Linked DNA regions of Homo sapiens: regions 1, 2, 3, 4, 6 and 7 are each linked to region 5. Evidence: promoter capture Hi-C in 16 types of primary human blood cells and fetal thymus (Javierre and others, 2016). All regions are on one chromosome and are shown on one strand. Each heading gives the region's core, a stretch centred on a gene start or on the middle of the fragment in contact. The rest is flanking DNA. Distances are from core to core; before and after follow the strand shown. Region 1 overlaps KLHDC10 (kelch domain containing 10). Region 2 holds the start of LINC03008 (long intergenic non-protein coding RNA 3008). Region 3 overlaps KLHDC10 (kelch domain containing 10). Region 4 overlaps ZC3HC1 (zinc finger C3HC-type containing 1). Region 5 holds the start of KLF14 (KLF transcription factor 14). Region 6 overlaps KLHDC10 (kelch domain containing 10). Region 7 overlaps ZC3HC1 (zinc finger C3HC-type containing 1).

Region 1 (3,320 bases), core at 113-2,612, 660 kb after region 5:
GGCTTCCATGTAAAAAAACATTTTGATCAAACTGAGATCTAATGGAAGAGAAGTTAAAACAAGAGAATGGAATGAGGAGTAAGAAGGTTCTTGGATGACGGAAAAGCTTGTGCAATGGACCTGGGGCAGGAGGAAGCATGATACATCCAAGGGGGCAGAAAAAGATCAATGACCAAGAGAACGTAACACAGGATTAACTGTAGAGTTAGAGAGGAGTCAGACGACACAGTGCCTTTGAGGCCATGTTAAAGATTTTTGCCTTATCCTAAGAGCAATAAAAAGGTTGTGAGCAGGGATGAGAATGTATTTGGGCTTGCAAAAAGACTGGTGTGCTATATGAATTGAAGGGCAAGAGTAGAAGCACGAATACTGCTTAAAAAGCTCCTGCAGGAGACCTAAGTGAGGGATGGTGGCACCGTGGATTGGAGTTATGGCAGGAGTAAAAGAAACGGACTTGGTAAATGATTACACCTGAAGTGCAACGGAGAAGAAAATATTGAGGAGGATGACCAAGTTTCAAGTTTGCATAACTGGATGGATAAAGAAGCTATCACTGAAAGAGAATGAGAACACTCCAGGAAGACCAGGTTGTTTTGTTTGGTTTCATTGGGGGCTGGATGGAGGGTTGAGATGTAAAAAGTAAGAAAAGGTTCTAAGTATCAGTAACTGGAAGTCTTGGTAGAGAAGGATGAAAAATGGAACATGGGGCTGGCTGGGCGCTGTGACTCACGCCTGTAATCCCAGCACTTCGGGAGGCTGAGGCGGAAGGATCACTTGAGGCCAGGAGTTCGAGCCCAGCCTGGCCAACATGGCAAAAACCCATCTCTACCAAAAATACAAAAAATTAGCCGGACGTGGTGGCCCGCACCTCTAATCCAGCTACTTGGCAGACTGAGACAGGAGAATTGCTAGAGTTCGGGAGGCAAAGGTTACAGTAAGCCAAGACTGTGCCACTGCACTCCAGCCTGGGCCACAGAGTGAGGCTCTGTCTCAAAAAAAAAAAAAAAAAAAAGACAAATAGGATTTAGAGGTCAAAAGAGAGAGACAGTGAGCTATACTATAGTTTTTTGTTGTTGTTGTTGTTGTTTTTTAATTTTTAACTTGAGATGTGGTCTTGCTTTGTTGCCCAGGCTGGCCTTGAACTCCTAGGCTCAAGTGATCCTCCCACCTTGGACTTTCAAAGTGCTGGGGTTACAGATGTGAGCCACCACGACCAGCCGCTATAGTACACTCAAAAAAATAAAAAATTTGGCTGGGCGAGGTGGCTCACGCCTGTAATCCCAGCACTTTGGGAGGCTGAGACAGGCAAATCACCTGAGGTCAGGAGTTCAAGACCAGCCTGGCCAACATGATAAAATCCCGTCTCTACTAAAAATACAAAAACTAGCCTGGCGTGGTGGTGGGCGCCTGTAATTTCAGCTACTCAGGAGGCTGAGGCAGGAGAATTGCTTGAGCCTAGGAAGTGGAGTTGCAGTGAGCCGAGATCGCGACACTGCACTCCAGCCTGGAGGACAGAGTGAGACTCCATCTCAATAAATAAATAAATAAATAAATAAATTTAAAATAAAAGGTTTTATCTCCAAGGCCCGTCAACCAAGCCTAGACATCCTATTCCTCCCCATCACCTAAAATCTTTTAAAATCTATCAAAATGCAAGAAAAGGGAGAGGCTTAAAATGCAATACCTAGCAGAATAAAGAATTGGTATGAAAGAATTTCAAACTACATAATACATTGAGGTATCAGATGTGTCCCAATTTTGAGAATGAGTAAAGGAGCAATGAAGTGTCAGTCAAGAGAAAAGGGAAGCAGAAAAAAGAGACTGATGACCCCGCTTTACAAATTTTCACAGTTTAGACACGTTTATCTTTACCTCCGGATAAATGGCTGTTCTTGGTCTTGTGTGCTAAGGGAATGCAGAAATAGCTCTACACTGAAGCCCCTTAGCAGAAATCATGGCTTCCACTGCCATCACGTGGTTGAAGTGAGGAAGTGCACCAAGCAGGTTCTAGGAACCTAGGAATGCCTACTTGAAGCCCATGGTATAATTAATCCGTGATCAAAGACCTAAAGATTGCGGTAGTAGAGGGCAAACTGGTGACAGTGTTTGCTAAGAGATTCATCTTCTAAGCTGCCAATACACAAAAATCTAAGTTTTTATTATTAATTGGGAGTAAGAAAAAAGATTGCTCCTTTTTTCTTTTTCATGTTAAAGATCGTATATTTAGCAATTCTAGGATGCCCAGTCTGATATTAACGTCTCAAACCCAACTTCTGGTATATTATATGACTACTTACAAATGCCTCGATTTAATGCATATAAATGGGGTAATGTACATTTCTAGCACACATCAACAACCTCATCACGAACATAAGCAATTGTCTCATTAAATGTGCTAAATTCCCTTTGTCATCTTCAATTTAATCAAATAATAATTTTTGACTAGAAGTATAAGGTACAGTCTTAAGCACAATTCATAAAAACCAATTCATCATGTTCTCAAAACTCATCAGCTAAACAAATATATCACTAATATAATCAATATTATTCACAAAAAACACGATGAATAATTAACACATCATTCCTGATAGTTCTTTTCATAGTAAAAATAAGCTTGCCCAGTGGGATATTTGACGTTCTCTGCATTATTTAATTCCCTACCTTCCTTCTACTAGATTGAATATTCAATTACAAACATACCTCTTTAAAATTGTCTACACATACATATCCACTTGATTTTATTTTGTTTTCAAAAGCATCTGAACTCAAGGCTAGGGCACTGTAGACCAAAATGTCAAATAATTGTATTGGGTACATTTTTCCAATTCTCAGTTGTTTTTATATTGTAAACACAGCATAATTGTGTCACTAAGTATATTTTTGATCTTCACTTTCTCCCCTTAAAACCTAGACACCATTATCCTGTCTCTGAACATTCCAAAATATTAATAATCCAACTAGTTTTCCCTAATCCTCTAGGTTCTCTTTCCCATACACTCCCCAGCCAACACTCCCCCACCCCTTTCTTCCGTTTCAGAATGCCTCTTACACACACGCCCCGTGTAGTTTTTACAAAATCACTCCTTGGAATGCGTTTCCTTCTTCTCTCCTTAACTTGGCACCCTTTTTGAAATAATTTCCCACAGCTAGGCGCCAATGTCTTTCATTTACAAGATCAAACTGCGGAAGGGGAAGAGATTGGGAATCGAGTAACCGAAACATTTGGAAATGTCAATGAGACAGTGGCCTCTCCTTTGAAAAGAAAACACAACTCTCAGCACAGAGCTTTCAACAGAGCACAGATACTTTTCTTCGCTGTG
Region 2 (3,095 bases), core at 338-2,837, 590 kb after region 5:
GCGGTTAGCGAGGGCTTTGGTCAGCAGCTGGAGAGTGCCGTAGTGACATGGTGACAGTCCTCGGCCCCCAGGAGGGGCGGAGGCCACCCCTCTGGGACCCCCAGCCCTAGAATCCCATGCAGGAGTGACTCTGCTGTCCCATCACACTCACAGCTGCAGCAAGGATGCCTTTCCAGCAGTCACACTCCCACGCAGGGGTCAGCCTTCCTCCCAGGGGGAGCAGGGTGGAGCGGGAGCTGGTCCTCCCAGCATACTGCAGGCGGACAACAGTGGCCTGTTTCAGGTGACACCTGTCTTTGGGCCCAGGTCCCACTTCTGTGGTTGTCCCCAGGCTGAGCTGCCCCCTGGAAGGGTTTTCTGGAAAGGACCAGAGAGGTGTGGATTTCGGAATCTCTGAGAGCTCTGGCACCTCTGTTTTCTGCTCCCTGGGTTGAGTGGCCAGAAGAGCCTGTGTGCTTGCATTTTCGGTATGACCCCTGGCCCTTATGTGTCTCTGTGTCCCCAGGCCCCTGCTCAATTCTCCACTTCACCGAGGGTGCCTGACCCCTCTCCTTTTCCCTCCATCCCCCCACTTCTGAACGCACCCCACCGTGTGCATGGGAGGGTCCTTCCTCCCTGTGGCTTTTCCGGGGAGCCTTTTCTTCTCCCTGAAGTCACCCCCGCATATCCCGGAGAGCCACAGCGCCTATCCCCTGGGTTGCCATGGAAACAGCCTTCTTTCCTCTTCCCTCCTGTTTACCTTGGTCAGGGACTGCGGCAAAAACCAGCCCGTCGCTGGAGGAGAGGGAGAGCAGTGGGCGGGGGAGCAGGGAGGGAGCCAACCCGCTCCAAACCAGATCATTCCGGTTCAGAGCGGCTTCCCCTCCGGTCCTAGGAGCCTCTCCGACAAGGCGCGCTGGGCTGCGCAGGGAGGCCCTGGGCCGAGCTGGCCTTAGTGGGGAGGGCCTGAGCCCACCCTGGCCAGCACCCCCTCCCCAGTTCCGTCCGGCCTCCATGCGTCCCTCCTGCCAGTGCTGGCGCAGCGGGGCCTGGGGCGCTGTCCCTGATTGCTGGCTGTTCCCCGCACAGGGGCGCCCTGCTGGGGCGGGGGTGATGGGAGCAGAAGTGTCTCGGCCCCAAAGGTGCTTTCGCCCTCCTGGGACCCCCGGGCACTCTCCTGCGACAGGGATGCTCTGTGTGGCTCTGGCTTAAAGCTTCCCGCTGCGTTTAGAGAAGCCAAACCCTTCGTCCCAGCCCCGGGATAGGTGCGGGGCCGCCTCTTCGCGGGGATTCCCCTGGCTCCCACCGCAAGGCTTCTTCCCCTTGCAGAAGACACCAGAAGCTGGGTTTTGTCCCTGCCCCGAACACTCTGGTCACACTTTCTAGCTCCCCGTGCACACCGGGCGGGAGGCTTTCCTTGTTTCTACGCCACACAGCTCCTATTCCCCCTCCATGGGCCACTGTGGTCATCTTGCTCGTTTGCTGTGGTCTGATCGATCGCCTCCTCCCCAATGGAAACTTCCCGAAGGCAGGGCCCGCTCACGCAGCACCCCAGCACCAATGGCACGTGCCAGATGTTCGGTGAGCGACGGTGGCCTCGAGGATGGGACGCGCGGCGGCGCCGGGCTGCGGGGGCCACCTCCCGGCCGAGTCCCCTCCCCGCTAGCGGGCGGCAGCTTCTTAGTCGTCTGGGTGTACAGACTGAAATCCACGGCTCTTCCTCCCCAGCCATGTGCGCTGCAGGCGGCAAGTCCATGGCCAGCGGGCGGGTAGCCCAGCGCACCGGGCCTTGGGGAGCCGCCCGCAGCACGGACCGCCCTGGCCCCTGGCTTCACCGCCCCTGCGCGGCTGCTCCCAACCCAGAATCCCGGGAAGCCAGGGGTGACTTCACGTCCCCGAAAGCCCTTCTGAAAGAATTTTCTCAGTAACTATCCAGGCCCATGTGCCTGCCGCCGGGTCCCAGGAGGATGAAAGTTCTCATGAACGCGACCTTGCAAGCTTGCAGACTTGGACTCCCTTCTCTGGCCCTTGGCAAATCACTGAATTTGTCTTGTCTTGGCCTGCCAATCTGTGAAACGGGGATAAAACTTCTAGGCCTGCGATTCAATACAGGCTTGCCGAGGAGAAAATGAACTGAAAATGCTTGGCTGACATGGCAGGGGCTGCAGAGGCTGGGCTCTGGGTTAGTGTGTGTGTTTGGGGTCCGGGGTTAGATCCAGTGTAAAGCTGGAGTTCTCGTCCTGGATGCCCTAGTATGCAAGTAGCTCTGAGACACCCCTGTGCCTATTGTTCTTATAAACCGCGTCTTTGTGGGCAGCAAGCCTGTGCAGTGCAGGGTGAGCCCAGGCAGAGGCCGACATCCCGAACCATGACCTGATCTTAGCTGTTTCAGGGTGAGGTTTGGGTAGTAAATAACCCAGGTGCAGGAGATGCCTGGATGGCCTGGATGTATTTTTCTGGGGCTGGGAGAGTAACAAAGTTTGCTCCCTGACAGTGGGGTGGGGATTTTGAACACATCCTAGGCAGTCATGGTGAGAGCCTCCTCCACTCCCAGAACCTTGCGGTTCTAAGTGGCAGGTTCAAGGAGGATAAACTGACCAGTCTGACTCCTCTAAGGTGACACAGGCTGCATGGCAGCTGCTTTCTCTTTTCATGGATGTCATCTGCAATACTCTAAAGCTCCTGGCCTGCTGTGGGGCCCCCAAATAGTAAGTGGCCAGAGCTCCCAGCTGTCTCTGCCTTCTCTTCCCAAGTCCTGGAGCTGGGCTGTGGTGGCTCCTGACCTCCCTGAGTGGTGTTTGGCACCTACCTTCCTGCATGGGCTGCTGAGCTCCCCTGCTGAGCTGTCTGCTGGAGAATCTGAGAAGCCTCTTGCTTTTGCATTTGAGGCTGCAAGGCCAGTGTAGGGTGAGCAGATTGGCTGGGTTGGCTTTGTATGTCACTCAAAACTACCTCCTCTCACCTGGCTGTGGATGAAAGAAAAAACCTCTGCTCTACAATAATGTTCTTGCTTGATTTTATGAATGGACAGGATGGTAAGGAATAGGCTTTGGGCAACAGGATAAAATCACAGCTAAGCCAGGTGTGGTGGTACATGCCTGTGGTCCAAGCTACTT
Region 3 (3,119 bases), core at 615-3,114, 610 kb after region 5:
AGTATACAACCAGTAACAGAGTAGGCACCAGATGGTGGTTAATGTATTGAGAACTTTTTTGTGTCATTATTTTTTAATCAATTGCATTAAAAATTTATAGATACATTAATATGTACAGAAAATGGCTATTAGGATATCATCCAAAACATTAAACCTGGTTATCTTTGAGTTTAGACTTGGATTTTTATTTTCTTCATTTTGCTAATTTGTATTTTGTAGATTTTTCTATAATCTTTTGTGATAACTTTGTATAAAGGGGAAATTATTACATAGTTTTAAAAAGTGATCTGCCTACATTTAGAGACCTTAGACTATGAGTTTGCAAATTAAGATACTTATTTAGCAGAAAATTATACTACACAGAACTGTGGATATAACATAAAACACCTCAGAACTTTCATCCAGGCAGTCTAGCTAAAAGCTAAAATAATTTATGATATGTCCATAAAATGACTTAAAGAAAGCAACCATGTGAAAATGCTTTGAAAACTTAATCTATTTCCTTCTTTACCTGAAGGCCTTGTTGCTGATAAAATAAACTACATCAAAATCATTCCAGTAAGAGGCCAACTTCCAAGTCCTCTTATGGTAGTTTTACAATGATCAGTCCACTAACAGTCTACAATTAAGATAAATTCTTCCTTAGCACCTATATGCTATTTTGTTTAAAGAGGCAACAAAGAGGCACTGGATTCATCTAAATAGAGTTAATAAAAAATGGTTTACTGTCTTTGCTTTCAAACTGGAGGGGAAAAAAAATCTCTTCAAGTATTTCAGTGAGTTTAATTCTTTTTTTTTTTTTTTCTGAGACGGAGTCTTGCTCTGTCGCCCAGGCTGGAGCGCAATGGCGTGATCTCAGCTCACTGCAACCTCTGCCTCCCGGGTTCAAGCAATTCTCCTGCCTCAGCCTCCCGAGTAGCTGGGATTACAGGTGCCCACCACCACACCCAGCTAACTTTTTTTGTATTTTTAGCAGAGACAGGGTTTCACCATGTTGGCCAGGCTGGTCTCGAACTCCTGACCTCGTGATCCGCCTGCCTCAGCCTCCCAAAGTGCTGGGGTTACAGGCTGCGCCCAGCCACAGTGAGTTTAATTCTATGAAGAGGCAACTGCTATTAGGAAAGAAAAGTGAAAGATATAGATCTGCTACTAGAAGGCAACTAGAGAGAACCATGCGATGTTTGAGTGTTTAACACAGCACTTAAAATGAATGACCTTTCCATCCATCCATCCATCCATCCATCCATCCATCCATCCATACATCCATCTATCATTCATCACCCATCCATCCATGCAAGCTTCCTTCCATCTATCCAATCAACATTCACTGGGCATCACTGTGGGGATGGCCCTGTGCCCTGTATTGAAGATATGTCTGTGAGAGAATGAGCCAAAGAATTCTAATATGCAAGTTAAGAAGGGAAATCAGGCTCAGCTTGGTGGCTCACACCTGTAATCCCAACACTCTGGGAAGCCAAGGGCAGGCAGATCACTTGAGCCTAGGAGTTTGAGAAGCAGCCTGGGCAACACGGTGCGGCCTCATCTGTACAAAAATTTAGCCAGACGTGGTGGCACATGCCTGTATTCCCAGCTACTTGGGCGGAGGGCTGAGATGGGAGAATGCCTTGAGCCCAGGAGGTCAAGATTGCAGTGAGCCATGATTATGTCACTGTACTCCAGCCTAGGTGACAGAGTGAGACCCTTTCTTTAAAAAAAGGGAAATCAAAAAGTAACTGGACGGTAACTGTTTTGCCTGTAATATGAAATTTGGTTATAGTTGTTACCACTGGTTTCTTCTTCAAAGTGTTACTATCTTCCTAATGCAGAGAGACTAAAGTATAAGAGGAAATGACATGGAAAAAAATTCTGTAGTTTAGAAGGAAATATTATTTCCTCACCAGAAGAACTTTTTTTACTATAGACCTTTCTTTACTATTTACCTGAGATCTAACATCCAACAGCCAGTTAGTTATTCTAACTGGGGCCAAAGGGTTTTCTTCATATTGCCAACACTCTGAAAGAGGTCAAATGTTAGCACGAAAGAATAAATATGCTTGAATCCTAGAACCTCACCTCTCTTCTGGTAGATCACAGGATAGGTTGTTTGGTTTCAGTTGTGTCCACTCTCTGGTATTGAGATCTAACTTGTGCAGGTCTGTGCTGTAAATATAGCCGGTTGTACCTCCAAAGACATAAAGGGAGCCATTGATGATGGCCATAGCCTGGATAACAAGGAAAGGTGAATAAGACCGACTTGTTAACACTTGATTAAAGAATGTAAACTTACCAGATACCTCCAAATCAGGTTTTATGAAATTCTCTTGTATTTTAATCTTTTAATGTATCAGACTCTTAAAAGAATAAAGATTTTAGAGAACCCAGAGATTATTTTAAGAACCTGGAAAACACCTTTAGAAAGGTGAAGCTTTACTCAACTGGAAAGGAAGTCCTACCTCCCAAGATGATTCTTAAGGGTCCTGGCTGATCAAATAATTTCTAGCCCATGGGCATAAGCATTTCCATTGAAAGCTGCTTCTCTTTATAAGCAGTCTGAAGAAAAATGCTCTCAAGAAGCAGCAGATATGAAAATAAGCCACCACAATCTGCTAAGTAGAAACCCTAGTTAGCAGTTCAAGGAACCTGATGTTTTCCACTGGACCCTTTTCAATGAAAGTTTCAGCTATTGTTATGGCCACTTCTTAAGTTTAAATGCCTCCTGTGGAAGCAACAAAGTTATCCAGTATGTGCTCCTTTGAAGTTAAGCTCAGAAGCTGTTTATCAGTACTAATGCCAGCGAGTCAAGAAAGAAGTCAAAGCTTGGTTGTTTTAAGCTTAAACTCTCAAAGAGTCTCTGATGTATGGTGGGTTGCTCCCTATCTTTCTGGATATAACTTTTCAGACCTAAGGTTTGAAGCGCTGGAACCTAAACTAATCTCTACATAATGTATGTTTTAGCTCAGATCCATGTAAAAGTTTCTTCACCAAGTGCTTTCTCATCTACTCAAGAATCACTCTAAAAATGACCAGGACCCAGACCATAGTGAAGCCCAATCTCTCACGGGGGGTGAGGGTAGAGGTGGAGGTGGGGTTCTAACATTTAAAGGAACTTCCATACAGGT
Region 4 (3,173 bases), core at 573-3,072, 710 kb after region 5:
AGGGCTGGGCGTGGTGACTTACGCCTGTAATCTCAGCACTTTGGGAGGCCAAGGTGGGTGGATCACCTGAGGCCAAGAGTTAAAGATCAGCCTGGCCAACATGATGAAACCCTGTCTTTATTAAAAATAGAAAAATTAACCAGGTGTGGTGTCAGGCACCTGTAATCCCGGCTACTCAGGAGGCTGAGGCAGGAGAATTGCTTGAACCTGGGAGGCAGAGGTTGCAGTGAGCCGTGATCGCACCATTGCACTGCAGCCTGGGCGACAGAGCAAAAACTCTGTCTCGGAAAAAAAAAAAAAAAAAAAGGCTGATTCAGTGTAGCTTCTACTTCATTCTAGGCCTACTAGACTGACCTCTTTAGGAAGTAGCTTAGCAAGGCCTTTCTGCACTCATCATTTGCCTTTGTACCAGTGTACCAAGTATGCAGTAGATGAATTGGGTAATGCCAGAGATAATTATACTATAGTATATAATCAGTTTCCACACTGCTTAGATTTCAGGCAGATTCCTTCTTTTCCAACTTAGGTATTACCAGTAGAATTCCTAATTGTATACTTTATTTACTCTGGTACCCAGTTAAGCTTCACCTTACAATGCAAGCCTTTTTGTATCTCTTGTGTAGACTTTAGGAACATGCCATTTTTTTCATTCTTAGCTCACAGTAAGTTATAACTTGGTAGTTATAAAATGATGGTTCTTTAAGACTTTTCACCTATTTAAGCATCCATCTCCACTAACTCTGTTCTGTTTTCTCTTTCTTAAGGTAACAATTTCACACATATATAGAAGTACACGGAATAGTATAAATAATGAAACCCCATCACTCAACTTCAACAATGATCAACTCATGGCCGATCTTGTTTCTTCTATATTCCTAACACCTAACACCCTGCCCCTCTGCATTGTTTTGAAGTTCAGTCCCACATATGCCATTTTATCTAAATATTTCAAAATATAAAAAATATGGATTCTACTTTTTAAACATGGTCTCAGTAGTATCATTACAGCCCCATCAAAATGAAAAACAATAATTTCCTGACACCATCAAATAGCTCATCAATTTTACTATATTTCCTCAATCATTCAATATGTGTTTTTTATTTATTTTATTTTATTATTATTTTTTGAGACAGAGTCTCTCTCTGTTGCCCAGGCTGGAGCACAGTGGCACGATCTCAGCCTCATTGCAACCTCTGCCTCCTGGGTTCAAGTGATTCTCCTGTCTTAGCCTCCCGAGTAGCTGGGATTACAGGCACGCGCCACCATGCCTGGCTAATTTTTTGTATTAAAGGAGGCTGAGACAGGGGTTTCTAGGTTGGCTAGGTTGGTCTTGAACTCCTGACCTCAGGTGATCCGCCCGCCTCGGCCTTCCAAAGTGCTGGGATTACAGGTATGAGCCACCATGCCCAGCCGTGTTTTTTATTTTTTACAGTTTACACCAATATAATCTTCCAATTTACTTTTTCCACAGACCGATTTGGGATGTTGCCCCTGGATGAGCCTGCTATTCTTGTTAGTGAATTCCTAGATCGTTTTCAAAGCCTTTGTCACTTGGACCTCCAGCTTCCTTCCCTAAGGCCGGAGGACTTGAAAACTATGGTGAGTTTTTCCTGACTAGGCTGCAATGGCCTCCAGTTGTTGCCAGCATTTATACCTGAAGCATTTCTTTTAATGACAAGAAGATGCAATTGCTGTGAAGAGAACTGCTTGTCTGTCTCTCATCTGACCTTTTCAGTCTCCACCAGGAAGGTGACAGTTGAGAGTTCCATTTGAATGTTTAGGTATGTTTTTTTAAATGGCATAGATTCAATTTAACATATATGTATATAAGCAGTTTATTTGGGCCAAGTTTTAGGGCTGTAACCTGGAAGCATAGATTCAAGTTTGCCCTGAATATATGCTTCCCATAAATTCAGTTTTATCTTGATTTATTACTTAAATTATTATTATTATTATTTTGAGACCGAGTCTCTTTCTGTCACCCAGGCTGGAGTGCAATAGTGTAATCTCGGCTCACTGCAACCTCCACCTCCCAGGTCCACGCAATTCTCCTGCCTCAGCCTCCTGAGTAGCTAGGATTACAGGCGTCTGCCACCACACCTGGCTAATTTTTGTATTTTTAGTAGAGACGGGGTTTCACCATATTGGTCAGGCCGTTCTCAAACTCCTGACCTCAGGTGATCCACCTGCCTCGGCCTCCCAAAGTGCTGGGATTACAGGCATGAGCCGGCACACCCAGCCTACTTAAACTATTTAACAGAAAATACTGAAATGTGACTGCATATGGTTTATTGCATATCTTTTTTTTTTTTTTTTTTTTTTTTTTTTTTTTTTTTTGAGACAGAGTCTTGTTCTGTCGCCAGGCTGTAGTACAGTGGTGATCTTGGCTCACTGCAACCTCCGCCTCCTGGGTTCAAGCGATTCTTCTGTCTCAGCCTCCCAAGTAGCTGGGATTACAGGCACGTGCGACCACGCCTAGCTAATTTTTGTAATTTTAGTAGAGACAGGGTTTCACTGTGTTGGGCAGGATGTTCTAGATCTCCTGACCTCGTGATCCGCCCACCTCGGCCTCCCAAAGTGCTGGGATTACAGATGTGAGCCACCACACCCGGCCATCATTTTTCAAAGAAAGTAACAAACTCCTTTCTCCTTGTGAGTAGAAATGTTTAAATGCTGTAGTCAGCCCGGGCACAGTGGCTCATGCCTGTAATCCCGGCACTTTGGGAGGCTGAGGTGGGTAGATCACCTGAGGTCAGGAGTTCGAGACCAGCCTGGCCAACATGGTGAAACCCCGTCTCTATTAAAAATACAAAAAATTAGCCGGACATGGTAGTTTATGCCTGTAGTCCCAGCTACCTGGGAGGCTGAGGCAGGAGAATTGCTTGAACCTGGGAGACAGGTTGCAGTGAGCCGAGATCGCACCATTGCACTCCAGCCTGGGCAACAAGAGCGAAACTCCATCTCAAAAATAAAATAAATGCTCTAGTCAATCTGTACTTTGAAACTGAATATTTACTGTTCCATTTAATCACCCTATGGGTACTCCATGAAGACAAGCTTTACTGTAGGAAATAGTAGCCTCTTCAAATTAAGAGAGTGGTATGGGTTTTAGCATCAAACTGTTAACCTCCCAAAGTCCCCTCCAAGTACTAACCAGGCCTGACCCTGCTTA
Region 5 (3,037 bases), core at 254-2,753:
AGATTCTATAGGTGTCAACCTGGATAGCTGTCAAAATCATATTGAGGGAAAGAAGTTGCAAAATGATATGTATACTAGTGAACCATTTACTTAAAAATTTTAATAAATAAGCATGGAGATATACATATATTTACATGTATAATTAGGTAATACGGGTATCAAAACAAATGCAGATTAAATAGCCACTTTATAATACTAATTACCTAGAAAAGTGAAGAGGGAGAAAGGTGAATGGAACTGGGGAGGGAAACAAAGTGACATTCAACTCTATCTGTAATGTTTAATATAAATAAAAACATGAAACAACTATAACAAAAATTTCACATTTGATTACCCTAGGCAGTAAATACATGAACGTATGTTATTCTTGATACATACGTATTAATTTTCAAAAGAAAAAGTACTGAAGAACTACAAATAAAATGCACACAATTCACTCATATAAAAGCTTGTATACATCAAAAACTAAGATATGACTATTTTTAGAAATTATCCTGTTTGTTTTTCTATGTAGTTTTACATTTTTAAAAAGAAAAACGAGGGAAAAAATGAGAGCAATGAAGACACGTAAAAGAAACCGTACATGCATTTGATTATAAAAAAGGCAAACCTCCACAATCACAAAACACCATATGAGCATTCTATATCATGTGCTGCATTTCCTTACATTTAACTTTCGTCAAAAGCAAATTACAAGATAATGCCTAATTGGAAACGTGACTTTCTATTATTAAAATGGTGGGAGTCCATTTTAATGTGTTTATCTCGCCGCTAGACTATAATTTATATCTCAGCGTTTAAATTTGTTTGGATGCCAGTGACAGGTTAATGCAGTTTAAACATGCATTTTTCTTTCGTTGGCTGAATAGTTAAATCGTTACTCAAAGGATTTTAAGTTTCAATTTCAACCGGGAGAGGATTCTTTGCTTTTCCAAGGTTAAAACTGTTTCTGGTTCGAGATGCTATTAATTAATGGCTACGTAGCGGATCTATTTAGGGAACTGCTCCCGGCCCCGGGTTCACAGTTGACCTGCTCAATGAGAAAACTTTTTTTGCTACAGACTTGGGGATATTTGCAATTTAGTCTGAGAGCGGCGAACGGGGAGTGAAATGGAATTCGAGACCACTTCGCTAACAATCGCAATTATGAACCGAAAGACATGTCAGGTATTAGCAATTTTTTTCCTTAAAAAAAAAAAAAACTTTCTGGGACTCCGCGGGACACCCAGCTGGCGACGGACCAGCGGGCGGCGGGCTGCGGGGAGGGGGGGCGAGGCTGCTGCAACCCAGAAGTTCCGACTGGGGAGTTTCGCTCTGTTACCATTACCTGGCTCGCCGGCAGAAGAAAGAACGCGGAGACAAGATAATTTCTGAGGCTGTTAAACATGACTTAGCCGGGGGCCGCGCGTTCCGAGGGGGTGTCCTGCGGGCCGGGGCGGGTCTCTGCCGCCCCCGCGGGCTCCGGTGCGTCAGGGGCGCGTCAGGCGGGGCGGGCTCCGCGCGGGCGGCGGCGGCAGCGGCGGCTGCGGCGGCGGCGGCGGCAGCAGGCGGCAGGCGGCGAGCACCCGGCCTCCTGCTTCTCGCTCCGAGGCTGCGGGACGGACGCTCCCGGGAACTCCGTCGCCCGCGGCCGGCCGCGTTCGGACGGCGCTCGCCGGCGGCCGGGCGGTCCCAGCATGTCGGCCGCCGTGGCGTGCCTGGACTACTTCGCCGCCGAGTGCCTGGTGTCCATGTCCGCGGGCGCCGTGGTTCACCGCCGCCCGCCGGACCCCGAGGGCGCGGGTGGAGCCGCTGGCTCGGAGGTGGGTGCGGCGCCGCCGGAGTCCGCTCTGCCGGGTCCGGGGCCACCGGGGCCCGCGTCGGTCCCCCAGCTCCCGCAGGTCCCCGCCCCCAGCCCCGGCGCGGGCGGCGCCGCGCCCCACCTGCTGGCTGCAAGCGTCTGGGCGGACTTGCGCGGCAGCTCTGGCGAGGGCTCCTGGGAGAACTCGGGGGAAGCTCCACGCGCCTCGTCCGGCTTCTCCGACCCGATCCCGTGCTCCGTCCAGACCCCGTGCTCCGAGCTGGCTCCCGCCTCCGGCGCCGCGGCGGTCTGCGCTCCCGAGAGCTCCTCCGATGCGCCCGCCGTCCCAAGCGCGCCTGCTGCCCCGGGCGCACCAGCAGCCTCTGGTGGGTTCTCTGGAGGGGCCCTAGGGGCAGGCCCCGCCCCCGCCGCGGATCAGGCGCCCCGGAGGAGGTCTGTCACACCTGCTGCCAAGCGCCACCAATGCCCCTTCCCGGGCTGCACCAAAGCCTATTACAAGTCGTCGCACCTCAAGTCCCACCAGCGCACCCACACGGGTGAGCGCCCTTTCTCCTGCGACTGGCTCGACTGCGACAAGAAGTTTACGCGTTCCGACGAGCTGGCCCGCCACTACAGGACGCACACGGGCGAGAAGCGCTTCTCCTGCCCCCTCTGCCCCAAGCAGTTCTCCCGGAGCGACCACCTGACCAAGCATGCTCGCCGCCACCCAACCTATCATCCAGATATGATCGAGTACCGGGGACGTCGTCGAACTCCCCGCATCGACCCGCCACTCACCAGCGAGGTGGAAAGCTCCGCCTCCGGCTCCGGTCCCGGCCCGGCGCCCAGCTTCACCACCTGCCTGTAGGACAGTCATTGCTGTCAGTCTTACCCTCAAGGATGATCCCCCAGGCCGTTGTCCCTGCTTTCTCTCTGCCCATCCTTCTTTCCCAGAGTCATTACACCAAGGCACAGACTGGTTCCTCTGCTCTGAGGGTGGGTCCAGGCAGACATGTGGACTCTGGGGAGGTACTGGGGGCCGGAAAATAGCGGGAATTCTTGCAACGTGTATATCATCCTAAAAGTGGGGGTTGCCTCAAGACAGCCCCCAGGAACTGATAAGAAGGGATGAACTCCCGTACTCTCCAGAGTACTGAAGATTCTCCCCTCCCTGGAACCAGGGATGTGAAACTGGAATTCTCAGATGCCTGAGGAGCTCCCAGTCTCAAAGGACTCTGGTGTCTCACCCATCCACCA
Region 6 (3,154 bases), core at 383-2,882, 630 kb after region 5:
TGAGGACACTGGTAAGGTTATGCCGTTATGTATTATGTTTGCTATTGGTTTCTTATCAATAAATGATACATCATATATGATATTTACTACTGGTTTCTTATAGTATTCTGTCATAAAATAAATCTTCTTTTATCCCTGGATGCGTAAGAATGTTTTCCCTTACCAGGAATGGATGTGGGGTTTATTTGTTTATTTATTTTTGAGACAGGGTCTTGCTCTATTGCCCAGGCTGGAACGTAGCAGTGTAATCACTGCTCACTGCAGCCTTGACCTCCCAGGTTCAAGCAATCCTCTCATCTCAGCCTCCCAAGTAGCTGGGACCACAGGTGTGTGCCACCACGCCCGGCTAATTTTTGAATTTTTTCTTAGAGACAGAGTGTTGCCCAGGCTGGTCTCCAACTCTTGGGCTCAAGAGATCCTCCCACCTCAGCCTCCCAAAGCGCTGGGATTACAGGCATGAGCCACTGTGCGCCCAACACAAAGTTTGTATTCAAATGTAACATACAGAAAAGCATATATGTCATAAGGGTACTGGATGCATTGTAACAAAATGAACACATTAAATATCAAATTTTATTAAATGTTTTATTTAATACAGCAAAGTCACAATTTTTCTTTAAGCCTATTAAAATAGTAAACTAAATACATTCCACAGATAAGGTCCATTTGATCTTGATTTCTTATTTAGATTTGTCCCTGCAATCTTATGTATTTTTTATTTACCGCTCTTTCTCGCTTTATTTTCCCACTTTTCTGATTTTATTGAAATAAGCTTTCTTTTTTCCCCTACAAAGATCTGTATCTTATTACCCCTAACACTTGCTGAAAAACAAACTTTTATTTTTTAACACTCTTCAGAAAGAACCACATCTGGAAAGACTCGCCTGTTAATGGTGGTTGAGTGAAGATGTGAGGCAGGATCTTTGCTTTTTAAATTTAACTCCTTTTATTGTTAAATATGGCATGCATTAGAATTTACATAAATATAAATGTACAGATTATTATTTATTTTATTTATTTATTTTGAGACGGAGTTTTGCTCTTGTTGCCCAGGCTGGAGTGCAACGGCGTGATCTTGGCTCACTGCCTCCGCCTCCCAGGTTCAAGCGATTCTCCTGTCTCAGTCTCCCGAGTAGCCAGGATTACAGGCATGCACCACCATGCCCAGCTAATTTTGTATTTTTAGTAGAGGTAGGATTTCACCATGTTGGTCAGGCTACTCTCAAACTCCTGAACTCAGGTGATCCACCCACCTTGGCTTCCCAAAGTGCTGGGATTACAGGCGTGAGCCACCGCGCCCGGCCTTAAATGTACAAATTATTAAAAAGAGAACACGTAACCACCATCCAGCTCAAGAAACACAATACTGCATAAAGTGCTTAATAAATTATTAAAATAGGAACATATAACCATCACCCAGGTCAAGAAACAGAATACAGCCAGCACCCAGAAACCCTTTGACTGCCCATCTTGATCACACCCTCCAACCTCCCTTCACTTCTAGAGTATCCTACTTCCTGATTTTTAGGGCAATCATAAAAATCTGTTGTCTTTTTATAGCTTTATTATACCTAGGTATGCATCTCTAAACAATACTGTTTATTTTGGCCTAGTTTTAAAGTGTATTTGAATAGAATAATATATGTAGAATAATATAGTATATTTTCTTTCTGGGCTCTTTTATTCACAATTATGTTTTTGAGATTCATCCCTGTTCTAGGGGAAAAGAAGTGGTCTGTTCATTTCCCTTGCCAAATATTATTTATTTGTATGAATATATGTCACAATTTATTTATCCAGTCTAAGTTGCGTGAAGAGGCATTTTGGGTTGTTTCAAATTTGTGGTTCTTAATGTTGCTACAAACATTTTTGCACATGTTGCAAGTGCACAGGGGCTCACATTTCTGTTGGCTATAAATGTAAACATGGAATTTCTGAATCTTAATGTATGTAAATCTTCACCTTCGTTTGGTAAAGCCAAAATGTTTTCAAAATGGTTGTACCACTTTACATATCCAAGGGCAGCATGTGAGAATTCCTGTTGTTCCATATCCTTGCCAATACTTGGTATTGCCACTGTCAGTCTTTTTAATGTAGCAATTCCTGTGAGTTTGTAGAGCTCTCGTGGTTTTACTATTCATTTCTCTCATTGCAATGAGGGTGAGCGCCTTTTCATGTTTATTGGCCATTTGAATTTTTCTTTTGGGAAATGCCTGCTGATATGGTTTGGATCTGTGTCCCCGCCCAAATCTCATGTTCAATTGTAATCCCCAGTGTTGGAGATGGGGCATGGTGGGAGGTGACTGGATCACGGGGACGAAGTTCTCATGAATGCTTTAGCACCATACCTCCTTGGTACTGTATAGTGATGAGTTCTCACAAGATCTGGTTGTTTAAAAGTGCATAGCACCTCCCCTCAACTCCTCTTGGTCCTGCTCCTGCCATGTAAGACACCTGCTCCCACTCTGCCTCTTGCCATGAGTAAAAGCTTTCTGAGGCCTCTCCAGAAGCAGATGCTACCATGCTTCCTATACAGCCTGCAGAACCGTGAGTCAATTAAACCTCTTCTTTATAAAGTACCCAGTCTCAGGTATTTATTTATACCAGTGCAAGAACAGATTAAGAACACCTGCTTAAGCCTCTTACATACATTCTCTCATTGAACTGTCTTTTTTGAAATTGATTTGTAGAAATGTTATATATGCTTGCAGTAAGGATCCTGACTTTTCCCCCTATGTATTTCTGTATTATTTGAATTTTTCTTTTAGTAAGTAGATAATACTACACCTGTAAATTTTAAAACAAAAAATTCTAGGACCTTTAGTACAACTCTCAATTTAATTTTAGTTACAGAATGTTATACAGTTGACCCTTGAACAAAATGAATTTGAACTGCACAAGTCTATTTATATGCAGATTTTCCTCTGCCTCTGCCACTCCTGAGACAGCAAGCCCAACTCCTCCTTTTCCTCTTCCTCCTCAGCTTTCTCAATGTAAAGACAGTAAGGATGAAGACCTTTATGATGATCCACTTCCACTTAATGAATGGTAAGTGTATTTTATTTTTCTTATAATTTTTTTTTTGAGATGGAGTCTTGCTCTGTTGCCCAGGCTGGAGTGCAGTAGCACGATCTTGGCTCACTGCAACCTCCGC
Region 7 (3,011 bases), core at 239-2,738, 690 kb after region 5:
TTTTTGAGATGGAGTCTCATTCTGTCATCTAGGCTGGAGTACAGTGGTGCCATCTTGGCTCACTGTAACCTCCACCTCCTGGGTTTAAGCAATTCTCCTGCCTCAGCCTCCCAAGTAGCTGAGATTACAGGCGCCCGCCACCATGCCTGGCTAATTTTTTGTATTTTAGTAGAGATGGGGTTTCACTGTGTTGCCCAGGCTGGTCTCAAACTTTTGAGCTCAGGCAATCCTCCTGCCTTGGCCTCCCAAAGTGCCAAGATTACAGGCATGAGCCACCATGCCTGGCCTTTTTTTCTTCAACTTTTATCTTCAGTTCCGGGGTACATGTGTAGGATGTGCGGGTTTGTTACATAGGTAAACGTGTGCCATGGTGGTTTACTGCACAGATCAATCCATTGCCTAGGTATTAAGCCCAGCATCTGTTAGCTATTCCTCCTGATGCTTTCCCTCCCCCAACTCCCACCTCCAACAGGCCCCAGTGTATGTCGTTCCCCTCATGTGTCCATGTGTTCTCATCATTCAGCTCCCACTTATAAGTGAGAACATGTGTTTGGTTTTCTGTTCCTGTGTTAGTTTGCTGAGGATAGTGGCTTCCAGCTTCATCCACATCCCTGCAAAGGACATGATCTCGTTCCTTTTATGGCTGCATAGTATCAAAGAGATTGTGAGCTCAAACATCCATCTTAAGCCGTTGATGTCTTTTTTTTTTTTTTTTTTTTTTGAGATGGAGTCTTACTCTGCCACCCAGGCTGGAGTGCACTGGTGTGATCTTGGCTTACTGCAACCTCTGCCTCCCGGGTTCAAGCGATTCTCCTGCCTCAGCCTCCCAAGTACCTGGGATTACAGGCTCCCACCACCATTCCTGGCTAGTTTTTGTATTTTTAGTTTCACCATGTTGGCCAGGCTGGTCTCAAACTCCTGAAATCAGGTGATCCACCCACCTCAGCCTCCCAAAGTGCTGGGATTACAGGCGTGAGCCACTGCACCTGGCCCAGTTGATGTCTTATAAAGGAAAGTGCAGCAAATGAGATCCAAAGTACAAGTCATCATAATTAGTAATTGCCACTTGTTTTCCACTGAAAATGGCAAATTCTTCTCTGGGCTGTCATTTTGTCTCCTATAGACCATAGAGGTTGTGAAGCTGAGGATACTCTACTCCAACATGGCCAACATGGTACTGATGGGTAGCTCTGTGAAAGGAGCAGAGACTGAAGGCGGAAGAAATGTGGTACCACACCACGTCTTCTGCTTTTCACTACTTTATTCCCTGTGTGCAAGGACAGAAAGACTTACATGGTAATTTTTTACAGTGATTCTTAAAAATTTTTAAATTACAGACTTACAGAAAGGTTGCAGAGATTACAAAGAACCTTTTTTCCCTGAGCTATTTGAAAGTAAGCCACCAAAGTGATGTCTTACTACTCCCAAATATTTCCTACAAACAAGGACTTTGTCCTACATAACCAGAATGCAACCATCAAAATCAGAAAATTGACATTGATAAATTACTACCCTCCAATCCTCAGACCCCAGTTTTTCCATCAGTTATACTAATAACATTCTTTATAGTTGAAGTATCCAGTTGAGAATCACACAGTACATTTAGTTGTCATGTTGCTTTATTCTCCTTTAATCTGGAACATTTCCTCAGTTTTTTCTTGAATTTCATGATCTTGATACTTTTGAAGATTACAGAACAGTTATGTTGTAGAGTGTATGTCAATGACATTTGTTTGATGTTTCTTTGTGATTAGATTCAGGTTATGCAGGAGTGTCGTGAAGCAATGCTGCATTCTCATTGCATCCTGTCAGGTGACACGTGATTTCTATTTATCCCTTTATGGTGATGATCACTTTGATCACTTGATTAAGGGAGTATCTGGCATTTCTATTGTAAAATAACTCTTTCCTCCTTTGTAAATAAAAAGTACTTTGTGGGGAAGTTCTTTGAAACTTTGTAAATATCCCAGTCCTTATCAAACTTTATGTAATTGATTTATTTGTAGTAACATGGACTCAATATTTTCTTTGTTATTCAATGGGTTATAATTCATTACTATCATTATATATTTTGATACTCCAGTTGTTCCTTATTTAGTCAGTGACATCCCCCTCAGGTTGGCTTCTGTGGCCTTTTGACATGTCCCATAACCCATGACCTCTTTATTGCTTTCAGGAACAAGTTGTTCTCGGCTTATCTTGTATTTTTCTTGCCCCATCCCTGGAATCAGCCAATTTTACAAGGATCCTTGGCTGTTTTTCAGTGGAGAATGTTATTTAAAAGCTAAGATCTGAACTGGGCATGGTGGCACACCTGTAATCCCAGCACTTTGGGAGGCCCAGGTGGGAGAATTGCCTGAGCCCAGGAGAGACCAGCCTGGGCAACATAGCAAGATCCTGTCTCTATATAAATGCATGAATGAATGCCAAGATCTGGGTGCAGGGAGAACTCATAGCTAGTGGGATGCCACTGTTCTCAGGCCCTCTCAGAGGAAAAAGCTAGAAAATATATATGTTTATGTACACACACACAGACACACACATTCACATGTATACACACATCTAAATTTACATCCATTTCTCTCTATATTTTAAAAAACGATGAGTTCCTGCTGACATCTCCAGTTGCAATTGTACATCACAGGATTCATTCTAGTTTTCTCCTTTTCCCTATTTTTCCCTCCCATATTCAACACTGTGAAACATAATTTGTTATCCTTAATATATTTACTACTTTGATCAATCCCCTATATGTGCTTAATCTCCCATTTCTGCCATGCTGCCATCCTTTCTTGCATGAATCTCTCGTCACCCCATTTAGGTCCTAGCACTCCACACTTGGCTGCCCGCAAGTGAATGCCTGTTACATACCACTTTGGTTCTGACACCCTGGGCTGAGCTGCCTCTTCGCAGCCTCCTGGCTCTGACATCTTCCTTGTTCACCGCCTAATGGCTTTAAGACTGAATTGCTCAGGAAAGGGAAGGTATTTTAACCATCCTTCTACCATTAT

The links. Contacts are between HindIII fragments. The CHiCAGO score rates a contact against its expected background, and 5 or more counts as called.
Region 1: a contact is called between a fragment that was not itself captured here and the fragment with the promoter of KLF14 in region 5, in 16 of 17 cell types (megakaryocytes, naive B cells, total B cells and 13 more). The highest score is 34.9, in megakaryocytes.
Region 2: a fragment that was not itself captured here is called in contact with the fragment with the promoter of KLF14 in region 5 in 4 of 17 cell types (megakaryocytes, erythroblasts, fetal thymus and 1 more); the score reaches 10.4 in megakaryocytes.
Region 3: a fragment that was not itself captured here is called in contact with the fragment with the promoter of KLF14 in region 5 in 13 of 17 cell types (megakaryocytes, endothelial precursors, M1 macrophages and 10 more); the score reaches 13.7 in megakaryocytes.
Region 4: a fragment that was not itself captured here is called in contact with the fragment with the promoter of KLF14 in region 5 in 4 of 17 cell types (endothelial precursors, megakaryocytes, M2 macrophages and 1 more); the score reaches 11.5 in endothelial precursors.
Region 6: a contact is called between a fragment that was not itself captured here and the fragment with the promoter of KLF14 in region 5, in 12 of 17 cell types (megakaryocytes, endothelial precursors, erythroblasts and 9 more). The highest score is 11.4, in megakaryocytes.
Region 7: a fragment that was not itself captured here is called in contact with the fragment with the promoter of KLF14 in region 5 in 1 of 17 cell types (M2 macrophages); the score reaches 7.3 in M2 macrophages.

The regions. Positions count from the first base shown.
Region 1 is chr7:130,070,986-130,074,305 of GRCh38, reverse strand. The region is part of intron 1 of KLHDC10 (kelch domain containing 10); the gene reads right to left. Among named protein-coding and RNA genes, the nearest start is that of KLHDC10, 2.1 kb to the right of the region's middle. The HindIII fragment of the contact is 2,507 bases long and covers 109-2,615 here.
Region 2 is chr7:130,139,417-130,142,511 of GRCh38, reverse strand. LINC03008 (long intergenic non-protein coding RNA 3008) reads right to left here and starts at 781. Exons shown (of 2, transcript NR_149034.1): 1 at 740-781; 2 at 1-253. RefSeq lists enhancers at 220-883, 1,072-1,211, 1,392-1,471, 884-1,547. The HindIII fragment of the contact is 784 bases long and covers 1,196-1,979 here.
Region 3 is chr7:130,121,157-130,124,275 of GRCh38, reverse strand. It overlaps KLHDC10 (kelch domain containing 10), which reads right to left. Exons shown (of 10, transcript NM_014997.4): 5 at 2,074-2,222. Among named protein-coding and RNA genes, the nearest start is that of LINC03008, 19 kb to the left of the region's middle. The HindIII fragment of the contact is 1,127 bases long and covers 1,301-2,427 here.
Region 4 is chr7:130,027,329-130,030,501 of GRCh38, reverse strand. It overlaps ZC3HC1 (zinc finger C3HC-type containing 1), which reads left to right. Exons shown (of 10, transcript NM_016478.5): 5 at 1,473-1,600. It also overlaps the pseudogene RNA5SP245. Among named protein-coding and RNA genes, the nearest start is that of ZC3HC1, 22 kb to the left of the region's middle. The HindIII fragment of the contact is 2,476 bases long and covers 585-3,060 here.
Region 5 is chr7:130,732,673-130,735,709 of GRCh38, reverse strand. KLF14 (KLF transcription factor 14) reads left to right here and starts at 1,503. Exons shown (of 1, transcript NM_138693.4): 1 at 1,503-3,037. The coding sequence starts at 1,677. The coding sequence ends at 2,648. It overlaps LOC105375508 (a long non-coding RNA gene), which reads right to left and starts at 1,446. Exons shown (of 4, transcript XR_927978.3): 1 at 1,328-1,446. RefSeq lists silencers at 1,690-1,769, 1,840-1,999 and an enhancer at 1,895-2,432. The HindIII fragment of the contact is 4,510 bases long and covers 451-3,037 here.
Region 6 is chr7:130,104,018-130,107,171 of GRCh38, reverse strand. All of the region lies in intron 2 of KLHDC10 (kelch domain containing 10), which reads right to left. Among named protein-coding and RNA genes, the nearest start is that of KLHDC10, 35 kb to the right of the region's middle. The HindIII fragment of the contact is 1,716 bases long and covers 775-2,490 here.
Region 7 is chr7:130,043,601-130,046,611 of GRCh38, reverse strand. The region is part of intron 2 of ZC3HC1 (zinc finger C3HC-type containing 1); the gene reads left to right. Among named protein-coding and RNA genes, the nearest start is that of ZC3HC1, 6.3 kb to the left of the region's middle. The HindIII fragment of the contact is 8,261 bases long and covers 1-3,011 here.